Linked DNA regions of Homo sapiens: regions 2, 3 and 4 are each linked to region 1. The links are contacts of gene promoters, found by promoter capture Hi-C in blood cells and fetal thymus (Javierre and others, 2016). All regions are on one chromosome and are shown on one strand. Each heading gives the region's core, a stretch centred on a gene start or on the middle of the fragment in contact. The rest is flanking DNA. Distances are from core to core; before and after follow the strand shown.

Region 1 (3,758 bases), core at 429-2,928:
TAGCACCTTTTCATGATTGAAATACCAAATAACTAGAAGGAGAATAAACTACCCCAGCAAAATAAAGGCTATATATGGAAATTCTCAGAGCTGATTGTCATACTCAATGGTGAAGGACTGAAAGCTTTTCTTCTAATATCAGGAACACAATGAGTTTTCTCCACTTTTCCCACATTTAGTCAATGTAGTATTGGAAGTTCTATGCAGAACAATTAGATAGAAAAAGAAAATAAAGCTATTAAAATTGGAAACAGAGGTAAAATTGTCTATATGCTAATGACATGTTCTTATATATAAAAATTCTAAAGAATTCACAAGAAAAAAAAACTCTTAGAGCTAGTAAAGTCAGAAAGTTGCAGGAAAAATATCTACATAGAAGAAGCAGTTGTATTTCTATACAAAAACAATTAATCTGAAAAGGAAAATAGTTCCCTTTGCAATAGCATTAAATAAATAAATTACTTAGGAACTGTCTTAACCAATGACAAGAAACACTTGGACACTGAATTTTGCAACATCTTACTAAAGAAAATTAAAGAAGGCACCCCAGGCATGGTGGCTTATGCCTGTAATCCCAGCACTTTGTGAGGCCCAGGCAGGCGAATAACTTGAGGCCAGGAGTTCGAGATCAGCCTGGCCAACCTGGTGAAACCCCTGTCTTCACTAAAAATACAAAAATTGGCCAGGTATGGTGGTACGTGCCTGTAATCCCAGCTACTTGGGAGGCTGAGGCAGGAGAATCGCTTGAACTCAGGAGGCGGAGGTTGCAGTGAGCCAAGATTGTGCCACTGCACTCCAGCTTGGGCGACAGAGTGAGACTCTGTCTCAAAAAAAAAAAAAAAAAAATTAAAGAAGGCGCAAATAAATGGAGATATATCCATTATTAATGGATTGGGCGACTTGATATTGCAAGGCTGTCAATACCTATATCTATAGATTCAATGCAATCCTTAATCACAGTAACATTTTTCTCAGAAATGAAAAAATCCACCTGAGATTCATGTGAAATATCAAGGGACACTCTCTCCCATGGTCATATTTTAGACCTCGTCATTTTCTAGCAAATATTCCTCCATAATAATTTGCAGCACTACTCTCCAACAACTTTGACTTGTATTTCCACCTTGGTCCCACCAGCATGCTAGCATCAGTAATATTAGAACCTCGCCAATACCTACAGTCCACTGAGACGATCACCTTTTTACTCTTTCAACTCCTCGTGTACTCACAGCCTGCCAAGCACATTTCTTGTCAGGAGAGGACAGCTCACTTCTCCTAATGTCTCACTTCCCAAAATTGTGTCCCATGAAAATTTCTAGCTAGATGAAGGCAGAGAAAGAAAATATTTGATTTCTTAGGCTTTATGGAAGCGATAGGAATGGCAATAGTGGTTTGGAATGGAGACTGCACGCACCAGTCAACAGGGTGTGTCCCGAATAAGCAGTGGGTAAAGGACATTTACTGAAATGCTATCTCCAACTCCACTTCAGGAAAGCTTGCTGCAGAGTTAGAGTGATATAGTCCAAATGCTCTGTTTGAGTCGCGGGCCCTTTGTCTCACACGGGCGAGTCCGGGGAATTCTGGGAAGTGGAGTCCACACGCTCTGTGGAGGCTCGAGCACTTCCGGTCCCCAACTGTGACGTTGCTATTTCATTTACCACAGTAGTTTGAGTCATTTCCACATCTTGCGAGTCCTTCCGAACGAGTCTCCTTTCCTTGGGGCTCGCAACCACCCAATGATCGATTCAGGAGAAAAGAAGCCTGGGCGGAGAGCAGAGGTTTGGAGGGGCGCGGGCGGGGATTGCCGTTCCAGTCAGCTGAGCCTTCTGGCGTCGGGGGGCTCTGCTAGGGTCTCAGGGAGTGGGATTGGCGCGGCCCGGTGTGCCCTACTTTGACCTCGCTTAGTCCGCCTCCCTCCTCCCTACGTGTGCAGCCCCTTTCAGTGTGGTGTGGAGTGTCACTTAATGTCCGTTTATCTTCCATTGCTGGTTCGTTTGTTTGTTTGTTTTGTAACGGGACTTTTCGGACCATCCTAATGGATTCATTTTGGGACCTGAAAGAGGTAACACAAATGAGAGCCTTAAAAGCAGTCCCTGTCACTCGGTGTCTGGTGGTCTCTTGTTAATTTCCCACGAAGCCTGTCAGGTCCTCTGGTGGGGTCAGAGCTCCAGCTGCAGGGGCGCCGGCCCTTCTGCCTGATCCCTGCAGGACGCTGGATGATCCCTGACGCCTTCTGACCTCTTTTTAGGAAAGTGAGGGGAGCATTTAACTTTTATGGGGGACGGCAAAACGGTCAGGGTGTTTCACAGCTTTCTTTTTCCCCAGCCCGACCTTTCTAAAAGAGCTGCAGGAAGGGACTTCTTGGCTACTGATGGCAAAGCTCTACGTGAGTGATCCTTGGCTTTTTTTCTTTGACAGAGATGCTTACCTCAACCGAGAGTGTGTAGGATTTGTCCCTCGGGCATGGGTGTCGATAATGATTAAGCCTTAATTGGTAACTTTATTCCAAGTACTTTATACCCCAAAATACATGATCTTCACAGTGGCACTGTGGAGAGGTGCTGCTTTTTTCATTTTAAAGATGGGCGTGAGACACAGGTGGAGCAGGAGTTGAAACCTAGGCAGTCCAGGTTAGAGCCTGAGTTGATCATCTCTTGAATGCAATTCTCATTGAGGCAGAGGTACTAGCTGGGAACAGGTGGAGAACGTAAGTTAGGACTTGATTGAAGGCACCTTGAGGCAAGGCTCAGGGGCTTGGACTTCTATAGGAGTTTTTGTTTGTTTGCTTTTTGCTTTTTAATTTTTTTAACCTTATCTACTATTTTCTTTCTCTCTCTCTCTCTATATATATATATATTTTTTTTTTTACAGAGTTTCGCTCTTGTTGCTTAGGCTGGAGTGCAGTGGTGCAATCTTGGCTCACTGTAACCTCCGCCTCTCGGGTTCAAGTGATTCTCCTGCCTCAGTCTCATTTTCGTCAAAGGGCCCGCGACTCAAACAGAGCATTTGGACTATATCACTCTAACTCTGCAGCAAGCTTTCCTGAAGTGGAGTTAGAGATAGCATCTCAGTAAATGTCCTTTACCCACTATTTATTCAGGACACACCCTGTTGACTGGTGTGTGCAGTCTCCATTCCAAACCCCTATTGCCTAATCAGTCATTGTCAGGACACAAACAGAATAAGTAGGAAATCTATAAGCTGACCTATGTCTCTCAAGATCCAAAACAACTTTACACTTGTCCCTTGTGCCAGTGCAATGCTGCTGTCTCCCAATAGTCTTTGGCCGTAAGATTGAGGTGACATCTGCTTGATGTTGTAGGAGGCAGTGACCTTCAAGGATGTGGCTGTGATCTTCACTGAGGAGGAGCTGGGGCTGCTGGACCCTGCCCAGAGGAAGCTGTACCGAGATGTGATGCTTGAGAACTTCAGGAACCTGCTCTCAGTGGGTGAGGACGGGCACCCCCTGTAATGGAATGTCAGGCCCCAGGAGTGGTTTTTTAATCCTAGGGTTTTCAAGTTTGAGTGTGCAGTGAGAACCTACATTTCCAGTAAATTTTGCCTGGCTATTAGGTTGGTGCAAAAGTAATTGTGGTTTTTGTCATTGGAAGTAATGGTACACTGCAATTACGTTTGCACCAACATGATATTACCTTGAACATGTTGGGATTAAGCATGTGACTTTGCCTGTTCACAGGGCATCAACCATTCCATGGAGATACTTTCCACTTCCTAAGGGAAGAAAAGTTTTGGGTGAT
Region 2 (3,758 bases), core at 712-3,211, 220 kb after region 1:
CATATCCTTCTTTCAGTCCTACAATTGGTAATTTCTGTTTTGTTTTCTTGTTCTTTTCAAAGTTTATTGCTTTTTCTTCACTATTGTTATCCTTTTCGTTTGGTTGATTTCTGCTTTCATTTTTGTTGTTTTCTTCTTTCTTGCTTAGGGGTTTTTCTTTTTTCATAGACAGGGTCTCACTCTGTTACCCAGGCTAGTCTCAAACTCCTGGGCTCAAGCAGTTCTCCTGCCTTGGCCTCCCCCAAATCCTGGGATTACAGGTGTGAACCATTGCACCCAGCTTTTTTTTTTAAAGTTTATTAAGCTTAAAAAAGCTTAGATAATTGATGTAAGTTCCTTTTCTTCCAATATAAGCATTTCATGCTCTAAATTTTTCTCTAAATGCTGCCTTAGTGGCATTCTACAAGTTCTGATATGTTATCTTTTTATTTTTATTTCTTATTTTCCCTTTTCTCTTCTAACTCATGGGGTTTTTTTTGACCCATGGGTTATTTAATTTCTAAGGGTAGTGGGGGATTTTCCTGAGATTGTTTTGTTATTGATTCTCATTTAATTTTGTTGTGATATGAGAATATACTTTGTGTGGTTTCAATTCTTTTAAATTGGTGCAGTGAATTACATGGCCCAGAGTATGATCCATCTTGGTGTATGTTTTAATGATGTTGATTAATAATGTTGTTGAGGTCTTCTATATCCTTACTGGTTTTCTTTTCTTTTTTCCATCACGGCAAGAGTTCATCATGACTTACTGGTTTTCTATTTGTTTTATTGATTAATGAGAATGAAGTCTCCAGCTGTTAATTGTGGGTTGTTTAGTCTTTGTCTTTATCAGTTTTGGCTTTGTATATTTTGAAGCTCTGTTGTTTTGTGCATACACATTTAATTTTATGTCTTTTTGGTGAAATTACCTCTTTATTATTATTTAATGTCCCTCTTATTTCTGGTAATAATCCTTGTTTTGATGCCTACTTTGTTTGCTTTTAATATCACCACTATAGCCTTTTTTTTTTTTTTTTTTTTTTTTTTTTTTTTTTTTTTTGAGAGGGAGTCTTGCTCTGTCGCCCAGGCTGGAGTGCAATGGCACGATCTCGGTTCACTGCAAGCTCTGCCTCCCAGGTTCATGCCATTCTCCTGCCTCAGCCTCCCAAGTAGCTGGGACTACAGGCGCCCGCCACCATGCCCAGCTAATTTTTTTCTATTTTTAGTAGAGATGGGGTTTCACCATGTTAGCTAGGATGGTCTCAATCTCTTAACCTCGTGATCCGCCTGCCTTGGCCTCCCAAAGTGCTGGGATTACAGGCTTGAGCCACCGCGCCCGGCCCACTGTAGCCTTTTATTAGTGTTTGCCTAATAGTAGTATAGCCACTCCAGCTTTAATTTGATTATTGTTGCTTTATTCTCCAATCTGATGATTTGTTATAATTGGTATGTTTATGTCATTTATATATCATTTAGTAATTGATATGGTCAGATATAAATCTATTTTTGGTTACCTTCTTTGTTTCTTTTCCTTTTGTTACACATTTTTTGCTAATTTTTAAATATGATTTCATATCGTATCCACAATTAGCTTATTTTTACAGGCTGAATATCCCTTACCCAAAATGTTTGGGATTAGGAGTGTTCAGATTTCGGATTTTTTCAGATTGTGGAATATTTGTATTGTAGTTATCAGTTGAGTATTTGCAGTCTGAACATCTGAAATCCAAAACACTCCCATCAGCATTTCCTTTGAGTTGTCATGTAAGCACTCAAAAAAATTCAGATTTTACAGCATTTGGATGTTCAGGTTGGGGTACTCAACCTGTACCTCTTTTCATTATTGTTTTAGCGTTTACTGTAGAATTTACAATATTCATCTATAGTTAATGACAGCCTCTCTTTAAATAATATATACTATTTTATTTATTTTATTTCACTAGGTTTTTGGGAAACAGGTGGTGTTTGGTTAATGAGATTTTGAATATATACTCTTTACTTATACAACTGTACACTCCCAATTCCTTCCTTCAAACTTTTGTCCAATTGTCAAGCATTTGTCGTTGGCATATGCTATAAAGCCACAGTACATTGCTATTATTTTTGCTTTAGGAGTCAAGTGTCTTTCAGAGCAATTAAAAGTTAAATTCTTAACTGCTTCTGGAAATCGTCATTACTTTGCAAGTTTACCAAATTTTATATAGCATCCTTTCTGTTTGAAGAACTTTCTTTAATGTTTCTTGTACTGCTGGTTGGCTGCTACTGAATTTTTTCAGTTTTTGTCTTAAAAAGTTTTCATTATATCTTCATTTTCGAGGGATGTATTTGCTGGGTATGGAATTATGTGTTGTTGTTTTTTTCTTTCTATACTCTTTGTATTCTGGTTTGCATAGTTTCTAATGAGACATGTCCTGTAATTCTCATCTTTGATTCTTTGTATGTATTGTGTCTCCTCACCCATCCCCTGCCTTTGGCCGCCTTCAAAATTTTCTCTTTATTTTGAATTTACTGCAGTTTCAATATGATGTGTCTAGGTGTGATTGTTTTTATTTTTATTTTAAAAATACAGATACTACCATTGAAAATCCACAGAAATATATTCATTCACCTAGAAACTCTTGTTTCTTACTACATTCTTCATGTAATAAACCAAAGGATGGAAGGGTGTATATTTTAGTACATTAGAAAAAGCTCATTTGCATATACTTCTTGAATTTTTCATGTGCACAAAGACCCACTGAAAGTATACACGAAAAACTAACACTGGTCGGGCGTGATGACTTATGCTTGTAATCCCAACACTTTGAGAGGACGAGGCAGACAGATCACTTGAGGTCAGGAGTTCGAGACCAGCCTGGGCAACATGGTGAAACTCCATCTCTACTAAAAATACAAAAATCAGCCAGGCGTGGCGGTACACATATGTAATCCCAGCTACTTGGGAGGCTGAGGCAGGAGAATCGCTTGAACCCAAGAGGCAGAGGTTGCAATGAGCCAGGATTGTGCCATTGCACTCCAGCGTGGGTGACAGAGCAAGACTCCATCTCAAAAAAAAACAAACCAACAAAAAAAAAACACAAAGATTACATGTGGTACATGGGCTTTTGGTATAGGCAAACAACCTTGGGTCAGAATGGGATGAGTTTTCAAGGTATATTGTTTATATTATTTTAATTTTGTACCATGTAAATATATTACCTAGTATAGAAAAAAATTTAAAGCAAATTTCCCCAAATGCATTAATGGGCCTTATTTTTTCCTTTGCCTAGTTTAATTATTTGATTAGAGTCTCAGTATTCTCTCATTTATAATACATATAGACAGTTACACATCCATATCTTCATATTTACACAATTTTAGAAAGTATTACATTTCCCTACAGCCTCACTCCATGGGAAGAGTATTGTTAACTGGCCATTGTGTTTTAACTCACCACTGGAAAAGAAAAATTAAACACACGTTTAACAACGCAGTTTTAAAACCTAACAAAGACCCAGTCCACAGACCCCATATATGTTACTGGCTGCTGCTCAGGATGGTATTTTCATCCCTGAGAGATTGGAATGCTTTTTTATTTTTTGTTGTCAATGGGTTTTCTCTTGCCTCATTCCAATCTTACTATTTTTCTGCAAAGCTTGTTTCCCTAGTCCTGCTTTCATCCAGAATAAAAGTTCTTAAAAGCCTATTTCTATCATTAACTAACTCCAGGCTTCACAATGAGAACAGTGAAAATATAGTTTCTTTTTCCTGAATCCCATAATTAGAACTACCTTGCAGTT
Region 3 (3,758 bases), core at 851-3,350, 180 kb before region 1:
CAAGCAATTCTCGTGCCTCAGCCTCCAAAATAGCTGGGATTACAGTCGTGTGCCACTATGCCTGACTAGTTTTTGTATTTTTAGTAGACACAAGGTTTCACTGTGTTGGCCAGGCTGGTTTTGATTTCCTGACCTCAGGTGATCCACCTGCCTTGGCCTCCCAAAGTGCTGGGATTACAGGCATGAGCCACTGCACCCAGCCTTCATCTTTCTTATTTTTGAAGGATATTTTTACCAGATATGAATTTCCCAACTGATATATTTTTTCTTTTAGTTAGCTTCAAAAATGTTCCATTATCTTCTGAACTCTATTGTATATAATGATTAGACAGCTATGATTCTTATTGTTCATTTTATATATACTTTATTCTCTGTTATTAAGTTTTTTCTTTATTTTTGGTCTGTAATAATCTGACTATAAAGTTCTAGATATGGTTCCTTTACATTTATCATGCTTCACTTTCCCTTACCTTTGATCAGTGGGTTGATTTTTTTATTGAATTTGGAGAAATTTCAACCATTGTATCTTCAAATACTTTTTTCTGCTTCTTTAGTACTTTTCCTCCTCCTAAGACTCCAATTATATGTGTGTTAGACCACTTATATGGTGCCACCAGTCACGGAGGTGCAACCCCCAGTCTTTTTACTCTTTGTACTTCAGTTTGGTAATACCTATTTACCTGTCTTGAAGTCACTGTTTTTTTTTTCTTTGATAGTGTCCAATTATTGTTAAGCCTATCCAATAAAGATTTCATTCCACCTACATTTTATAGTTATAGAATTTACATTTGGTTTTGTGGGTCTGCTTTTATTGACTGTATTTTCTCTAAATCTTGTGTCAAATTTTCCTGCTTCTTTACCGGTCTTACAATTTCTCATTGTATACTGGCCATTGTAGATGCCATGTTGTAGTGACTTGGGGATTTTATTATCTTCCTAATAGTTAAACTGTTCAGGCAAGCAGTTAAATTAATAGCAGATCACAATGATCTTTTTAAGAGTTGATTTTTGAAGGCAGGTACAGTTTGGTTTTATCCTTAGTCCTGGACATAATTCTTACTCTAGGTAGGGCAGTGGTTCTCAAACTGTGGACTGAAGACCCCTGGGAGTTCCCAAGAACCTTTCAGTGGGCCAAACCTTTCACAAAGTGAAAAATATTCTCATAACAATACTGAGAGGTTTGCCTTTTTCACTGTGGTGACACTTCCACTGGTGGTGTAGAAGCCATGGTGAATCTTCTCTGCTTTAGCATGAGCAAAGGCAGAGGCACCAAATAGTACTAGTAATCATCATATTCTTTACCTCCACACACAAAGAAAATGTGTTAAGAAAAAACCCATTTTCACTTAAGAACATCTTGAAGAAGCAGTATTCATTTTATTAAATCTCAACCCTTGATTATATATACATTTAAAAAATATTCTATGTAATGAAATGGGAAGTATCCATTAAGGTCTTCTGCTGTATACCAAAGTATGATGGTTGCCTTGAAGAAAACCACTTGTACAGTTGTTTAAGTTGTGAGTTAAAGGCCAGGCTCTGTGGCTGATGCCCGTAATCCCAGCATTTTGGGAGGCCAAGGCGGACAGATCACAAGGTTAAGAGATCGAGACCATCCTGGCCAACATGGTGAAACCCCATCTCTACTAAAAATACAAAAATTAGCTGAGCATGGTGGCACGCGCCTGTAGTCCCAGCTACTCGGGAGGCTGAGGCAGGAGAATCGCTTGAACCCGAGAGGCGGAGGTTGCAGTGAGCCAAGATCGTGCCACTGCATTCCAGCCTGGTGACAAAGTGAGACTACGTCCCCACCCCCAAAAAAATTGTGAGTTAAACCAACTGCTTTTTTGACAAAACACCATATTTTTCACCAAAGAATGAAAAACTTTGTTTGTTCAGACTTGGGCAGTAGGAAAACATTTTCTTGCAAGTGAGCCTGTCACTTCAAAAATAACTAATATTTGTTGCCAATGATATAATTCAATCTGTCATGTTAAAATTAGAATTTTGTAAAATGTTTATTCATAATTTTGAGCTTTATAGCTTCCTAATACATTAAGATTTTTTATGAGATGGGTGGTAATATTAACATGTGATTTTTTGATGTTGTATAGTGAACTACGTCAACATTTCAAAGATCTGCATAACTCTTTGAATCAGTATTTTCCAAATGACCAGTGTATGATGTTACAAAATTACACATGGATAAAAGATTATTCAAAGTGCAATGTAACATAGTATGAAAAGTTCACAGATATGATTTTATATTCCACATTGTACTTAACCTGCCAGACACTACCATTTCTTAAGTTTTAGGGTGGTGTCAAAGAAAAATATCCACAGTTATCTGCATGGACTAGTAAAATATTCTGCCATTTTCCAACTATGTACCATGAGAGGCTAGATTTTCTTCATATACTTCATATATATGATTTTCTTCATATATTTCAACCTAAATAACATATTGCCATAGATTGAATGCAGAAGCAGATATGAGAATCCAGGTGTCTTTTATTAAACCATCCATTTAAAAGATTTGAAAAAATTTAAAACATCTTTTGTTTTGTTTTAGAAAAGATTATTTTTATAACAAATCATTTATGTTAACAGTTAATGGTTTATTGTTATTTTAAGTGAATTAGTAAATATCTTAAAATTTCTCTGTTTAAATTTTTAACATGACAAATATCAAAATATATAACTACATAAACTAAAAGTCTTTTGGGTCCTCAATGATTTTTCTTGACATTTAAGAAGTTAAACCCATATTTATTTACTGACACTGTAAAACCTTACATAAAACATAAGTAGTAAGTAACTAAAATGTTAAATCTAAATCTATAATGTTAAATTAAAATCTAAGCCTTACATAGAAATTAAAATTCGCTAAACTACTGATGCTATGTTGTACAAAACTGTACTCCTTTTAGTTCATAATTGGTCACCTCCATATTCAGTTGGAATATTAGGTTGGTCAGCTTAAATACTGTGGCTTTGTTTTGGTTATCCACAGAATCTTTACACCCAAATGTTAATGCATAAAAAGCAGCAAGACATTGTTAAATGAAACAGCAATAGTGCAGTTTAGACCTGTGACCAACTATATATGATTAAACTTACTTCCCACATTCACATCACAATAATCATCCATCATTTAATAGCTCAACCAAAATGTTATACAGTCATCAACAGGCAAGGCACATGAAAACCCCGCACAACCAAGAATGATTTGGGCCCAAATGTCAGTAGATTTGAGTTTGGAAAAACCTTCTTGTAGTTGTTAAGGCTCAATGGCTCTGGTTAATTTAATATAATAAACAACAACTTCATAATGGAAAAAAATTAAATCCTCTATTGAGGTATAAAACCTAATTAATTTATAAGGATAAAGTAAGTGACTACCTTGAAGTCAAAACACATTATGGACAATGAAAGAGTATTACGATTGTTCCAAATTGACAAGGGTATTTAAACCTAGGTACACAATCTTTCTTAAAATTAATTTATAGAAAGTCATAACCTGTGGGTACATGAATATGAATATACATCTTCTCCAACTTGACAAGTACATTATTGCTGGGACAGGTACCTTTTAATAACAAGTAACTTATTAGCCTAGAAAGGCCAAACTTCTCTTTTTATTGTCAGCTTTTGGTTTTTAATATACCTGGGGTTATATAAACAAAAACACAGTCATAGTAGTTTTGGGCTAAGTAAATTCTGGATTATGTCAAAGAAACCTGATTGTTTCTAGTATC
Region 4 (3,758 bases), core at 447-2,946, 150 kb after region 1:
AACTAAAAACCAGGACATGAGCATTAGCCTTTCCCTCAAAATGTTTGCACAGTTGCATCCCATTTGCTTCTTCCAAAGTCCACATTCATAAAAAGAAATGGATCTTACATTGTTGCCTCTCAAACATTTATATCGTGTAGGCTTATATGTATGTCTTTAGAAGGCCTTTTATGTAATGACACCATTACTGCTTGTGATTATTCTGATATGATACTTTATCTGTTTTTTTTTCCTAAATATCACAAGCTATTAAATTTATTTCACAATTGACTAGTAGACCACTTTGTCAATTTGGAAAACATTCTTGTTAAAGACAAACATATCTACATCCAGAAACTTTCTATACCTTGCTTTCAAAGAGACAGCATTCTTTGCTAGCCTTCCAATTTTGACTCAGTGCAAAAGCCTTAGAAGGATCCAGTGCATAGGTCTTCATGCTTTCCTTTCACCCCAAGTGATTATCAACTTTGATTTTTCTCTTCAGCAATAACTCACTTGGTGTACCCCTACCTCAGGTACAGCTTTTCAACTTTGCAGCAAAACTGTACTTTCTAGTTCTTTTTGTATTTCAGATACCTTACTTGTAAAAGCTCTTTTGCTCTATGACCTGGCTCAAACTTAAACTTGGATTTGAAGTTAGAAGAAATGTTGGAAGTCATTTATATATGAAGAAATGTTGGAAGGACTCATATATGCATACATTCCTTGAGTGACTATGAATGACTGCCGGGCAGTAACTTCTGGGCTGTGGTTGTAAACTGTGAGCACTACAAAATGTTTTTCCTTATTGATACCATATTATGGTAGGAAAGACATGGAATAAAAAATTTAGATAGTATGTCAGTAGTTGTGTTTTTAAATGGGTTTCATTAGTGCTTAGCAATTGGGAGCTTGGTGGACCATCTCTTGGTTTTGGACCATCTCTTGGTTTCTGTCAGTATGTAAACCAGAAACTTCAAATGTGTCACAAAAGATGAGCAGAACTATCCCGAGGTTCATTAAAGTCTTTTACTCTGTCCTCAGTGTGAAATCTTAAATCTTTGAACAAAAAAATTCACTATCTCTCTGAATCCTTTGTCCTTACAGGAGAGAAAAATCAAAGTAAGTTAATTACTGTTCAAGACAGAGAATCAGAAGAAGAGCTTTCTTGTTGGCAAATCTGGCAACAAATTGCAAATGACTTAACCAGGTGTCAAGACTCCATGATCAATAATTCTCAGTGTCACAAACAAGGTGATTTCCCTTACCAGGTAGGGACAGAACTGTCTATTCAAATTTCTGAAGATGAGAACTATATAGTAAATAAAGCAGATGGTCCCAATAATACTGGGAATCCAGAGTTTCCTATCTTGAGAACCCAGGATTCTTGGAGGAAAACATTCCTGACTGAGTCACAGAGATTGAACAGAGATCAGCAAATTTCCATAAAAAATAAATTATGTCAATGTAAGAAGGGTGTTGATCCCATCGGTTGGATTTCACATCATGATGGTCATAGAGTACACAAAAGTGAAAAATCTTATAGACCCAATGATTATGAAAAAGACAACATGAAGATTTTGACATTTGATCACAATAGCATGATTCACACAGGACAGAAATCGTACCAGTGTAATGAGTGTAAAAAACCCTTCAGTGATCTCTCCAGCTTTGATCTTCATCAGCAGTTACAATCAGGAGAGAAGTCTCTTACATGTGTTGAGCGTGGAAAAGGCTTCTGTTACAGCCCAGTTCTTCCTGTTCATCAGAAAGTACATGTGGGAGAAAAACTTAAGTGTGATGAGTGTGGTAAGGAATTCAGTCAGGGCGCTCATCTACAGACCCATCAGAAAGTCCACGTGATAGAGAAACCATACAAATGTAAGCAATGTGGGAAAGGTTTCAGTCGTAGATCAGCACTTAATGTTCATTGCAAGGTCCACACGGCAGAGAAACCTTATAATTGTGAGGAGTGTGGGAGGGCCTTCAGTCAGGCCTCTCATCTTCAGGACCATCAGAGACTCCACACTGGGGAGAAGCCATTCAAATGTGATGCATGTGGTAAGAGCTTCAGTCGGAATTCACATCTTCAATCCCATCAAAGAGTTCATACAGGAGAGAAACCATACAAATGTGAGGAGTGTGGTAAGGGCTTCATTTGTAGCTCAAATCTTTACATTCATCAGAGAGTCCACACAGGAGAAAAACCCTATAAATGTGAGGAATGTGGTAAAGGCTTTAGTCGGCCTTCAAGTCTTCAGGCCCATCAGGGAGTTCACACTGGAGAGAAGTCATACATATGTACTGTATGTGGGAAAGGCTTTACTCTGAGTTCAAATCTTCAAGCCCATCAGAGAGTCCACACTGGAGAGAAGCCATACAAATGCAATGAGTGTGGGAAGAGCTTCAGGAGGAATTCCCATTATCAAGTTCATCTAGTGGTCCACACAGGAGAGAAACCCTATAAATGTGAGATATGTGGGAAGGGCTTCAGTCAAAGTTCGTATCTTCAAATCCATCAGAAGGCCCACAGTATAGAGAAACCTTTTAAGTGTGAGGAGTGTGGGCAGGGTTTCAATCAGAGCTCACGACTTCAGATTCACCAGCTGATCCATACGGGTGAGAAACCATACAAATGTGAAGAGTGTGGCAAGGGATTTAGTCGTAGAGCAGATCTTAAAATTCACTGTAGGATCCACACAGGAGAGAAACCATATAATTGTGAGGAGTGTGGGAAGGTCTTCAGGCAGGCCTCAAATCTTTTGGCCCATCAGAGAGTCCACAGTGGAGAAAAACCATTCAAATGTGAAGAATGTGGGAAGAGTTTCGGTCGGAGTGCACATCTTCAAGCCCATCAAAAAGTCCACACTGGAGATAAGCCATACAAATGTGATGAGTGTGGGAAGGGCTTCAAGTGGAGCTTGAACCTTGACATGCATCAGAGGGTGCACACAGGAGAAAAACCATATAAATGTGGGGAGTGTGGTAAGTACTTCAGTCAGGCCTCAAGTCTTCAACTTCATCAGAGTGTCCACACAGGAGAGAAACCATACAAATGTGATGTGTGTGGTAAAGTCTTCAGTCGGTCTTCACAACTACAGTCTCATCAGCGAGTTCACACTGGGGAGAAACCTTATAAATGTGAGATATGTGGTAAGAGCTTCAGTTGGCGATCAAATCTTACAGTTCATCACAGAATCCATGTTGGTGATAAATCCTATAAAAGTAATAGGGGTGGTAAGAACATCAGAGAATCCACACAGGAAAAAAAATCTATAAAATGATTCTTTGTGAAGACTCGTGTCATTTGAATTCTTCCAGTTATCAAGTCTCAAAGTCAGTGTTTCAGCCGTAGCTCCTCATGTCCCAGTGGTCCAAAGACAACAAAACAATCTTTATGATTAGCATAGCAAGGGCTTCTTTAGTCAGAACCTTGACCTTTATAAAATGTTACTTAGAAGAGGGGTGTTAAGAGTGAAATTTTTCTCAGGCCTTTTATAAAAGTATCATGGTGGACATGCCAAAATTAAGTGTCCACTAGAATGTTAACTCCATAAAGACAGAAACTTTGTTCACTACTGAATCTACATAATCTTACCATTGCCATATACTTCACAGGTGCTCAATATTTGTTAATAGGTCCTTTTTGAAAATTATGTTGAGATCACCTGCAGAATATCATGAATTTGTAAACAGGAAACCTGAAAGTAGCCTTAATAAGATTAAGTCGGGAGACCATTGAAATGTAGAAAACCACTCAATACTGAACTCCCCAATGT

The links. Contacts are between HindIII fragments. The CHiCAGO score rates a contact against its expected background, and 5 or more counts as called.
Region 2: a fragment that was not itself captured here is called in contact with the fragment with the promoter of ZNF222 in region 1 in 1 of 17 cell types (non-activated CD4 T cells); the score reaches 5.9 in non-activated CD4 T cells.
Region 3: a contact is called between a fragment that was not itself captured here and the fragment with the promoter of ZNF222 in region 1, in 2 of 17 cell types (non-activated CD4 T cells and total CD4 T cells). The highest score is 6.2, in non-activated CD4 T cells.
Region 4: a fragment that was not itself captured here is called in contact with the fragment with the promoter of ZNF222 in region 1 in 3 of 17 cell types (non-activated CD4 T cells, fetal thymus and naive CD4 T cells); the score reaches 5.5 in non-activated CD4 T cells.

Annotation. Positions count from the first base shown.
Region 1 is chr19:44,023,701-44,027,458 of GRCh38, forward strand. ZNF222 (zinc finger protein 222) reads left to right here and starts at 1,679. Exons shown (of 4, transcript NM_001129996.2): 1 at 1,679-1,778; 2 at 3,323-3,449; 3 at 3,698-3,758. The coding sequence starts at 1,737. ZNF222-DT (ZNF222 divergent transcript) reads right to left here and starts at 1,582. Exons shown (of 3, transcript NR_184028.1): 1 at 1,415-1,582; 2 at 1,198-1,319; 3 at 1-199. RefSeq lists enhancers at 1,645-1,694, 1,925-1,974. The HindIII fragment of the contact is 1,542 bases long and covers 1,494-3,035 here.
Region 2 is chr19:44,246,024-44,249,781 of GRCh38, forward strand. No RefSeq gene overlaps it. Among named protein-coding and RNA genes, the nearest start is that of ZNF233, 12 kb to the right of the region's middle. The HindIII fragment of the contact is 3,299 bases long and covers 313-3,611 here.
Region 3 is chr19:43,841,531-43,845,288 of GRCh38, forward strand. All of the region lies in intron 6 of ZNF283 (zinc finger protein 283), which reads left to right. Among named protein-coding and RNA genes, the nearest start is that of ZNF283, 16 kb to the left of the region's middle. The HindIII fragment of the contact is 4,496 bases long and covers 1-3,758 here.
Region 4 is chr19:44,174,412-44,178,169 of GRCh38, forward strand. It overlaps ZNF226 (zinc finger protein 226), which reads left to right. Exons shown (of 6, transcript NM_001032373.2): 6 at 1,087-3,274. The coding sequence ends at 3,263. Among named protein-coding and RNA genes, the nearest start is that of ZNF226, 11 kb to the left of the region's middle. The HindIII fragment of the contact is 8,400 bases long and covers 1-3,758 here.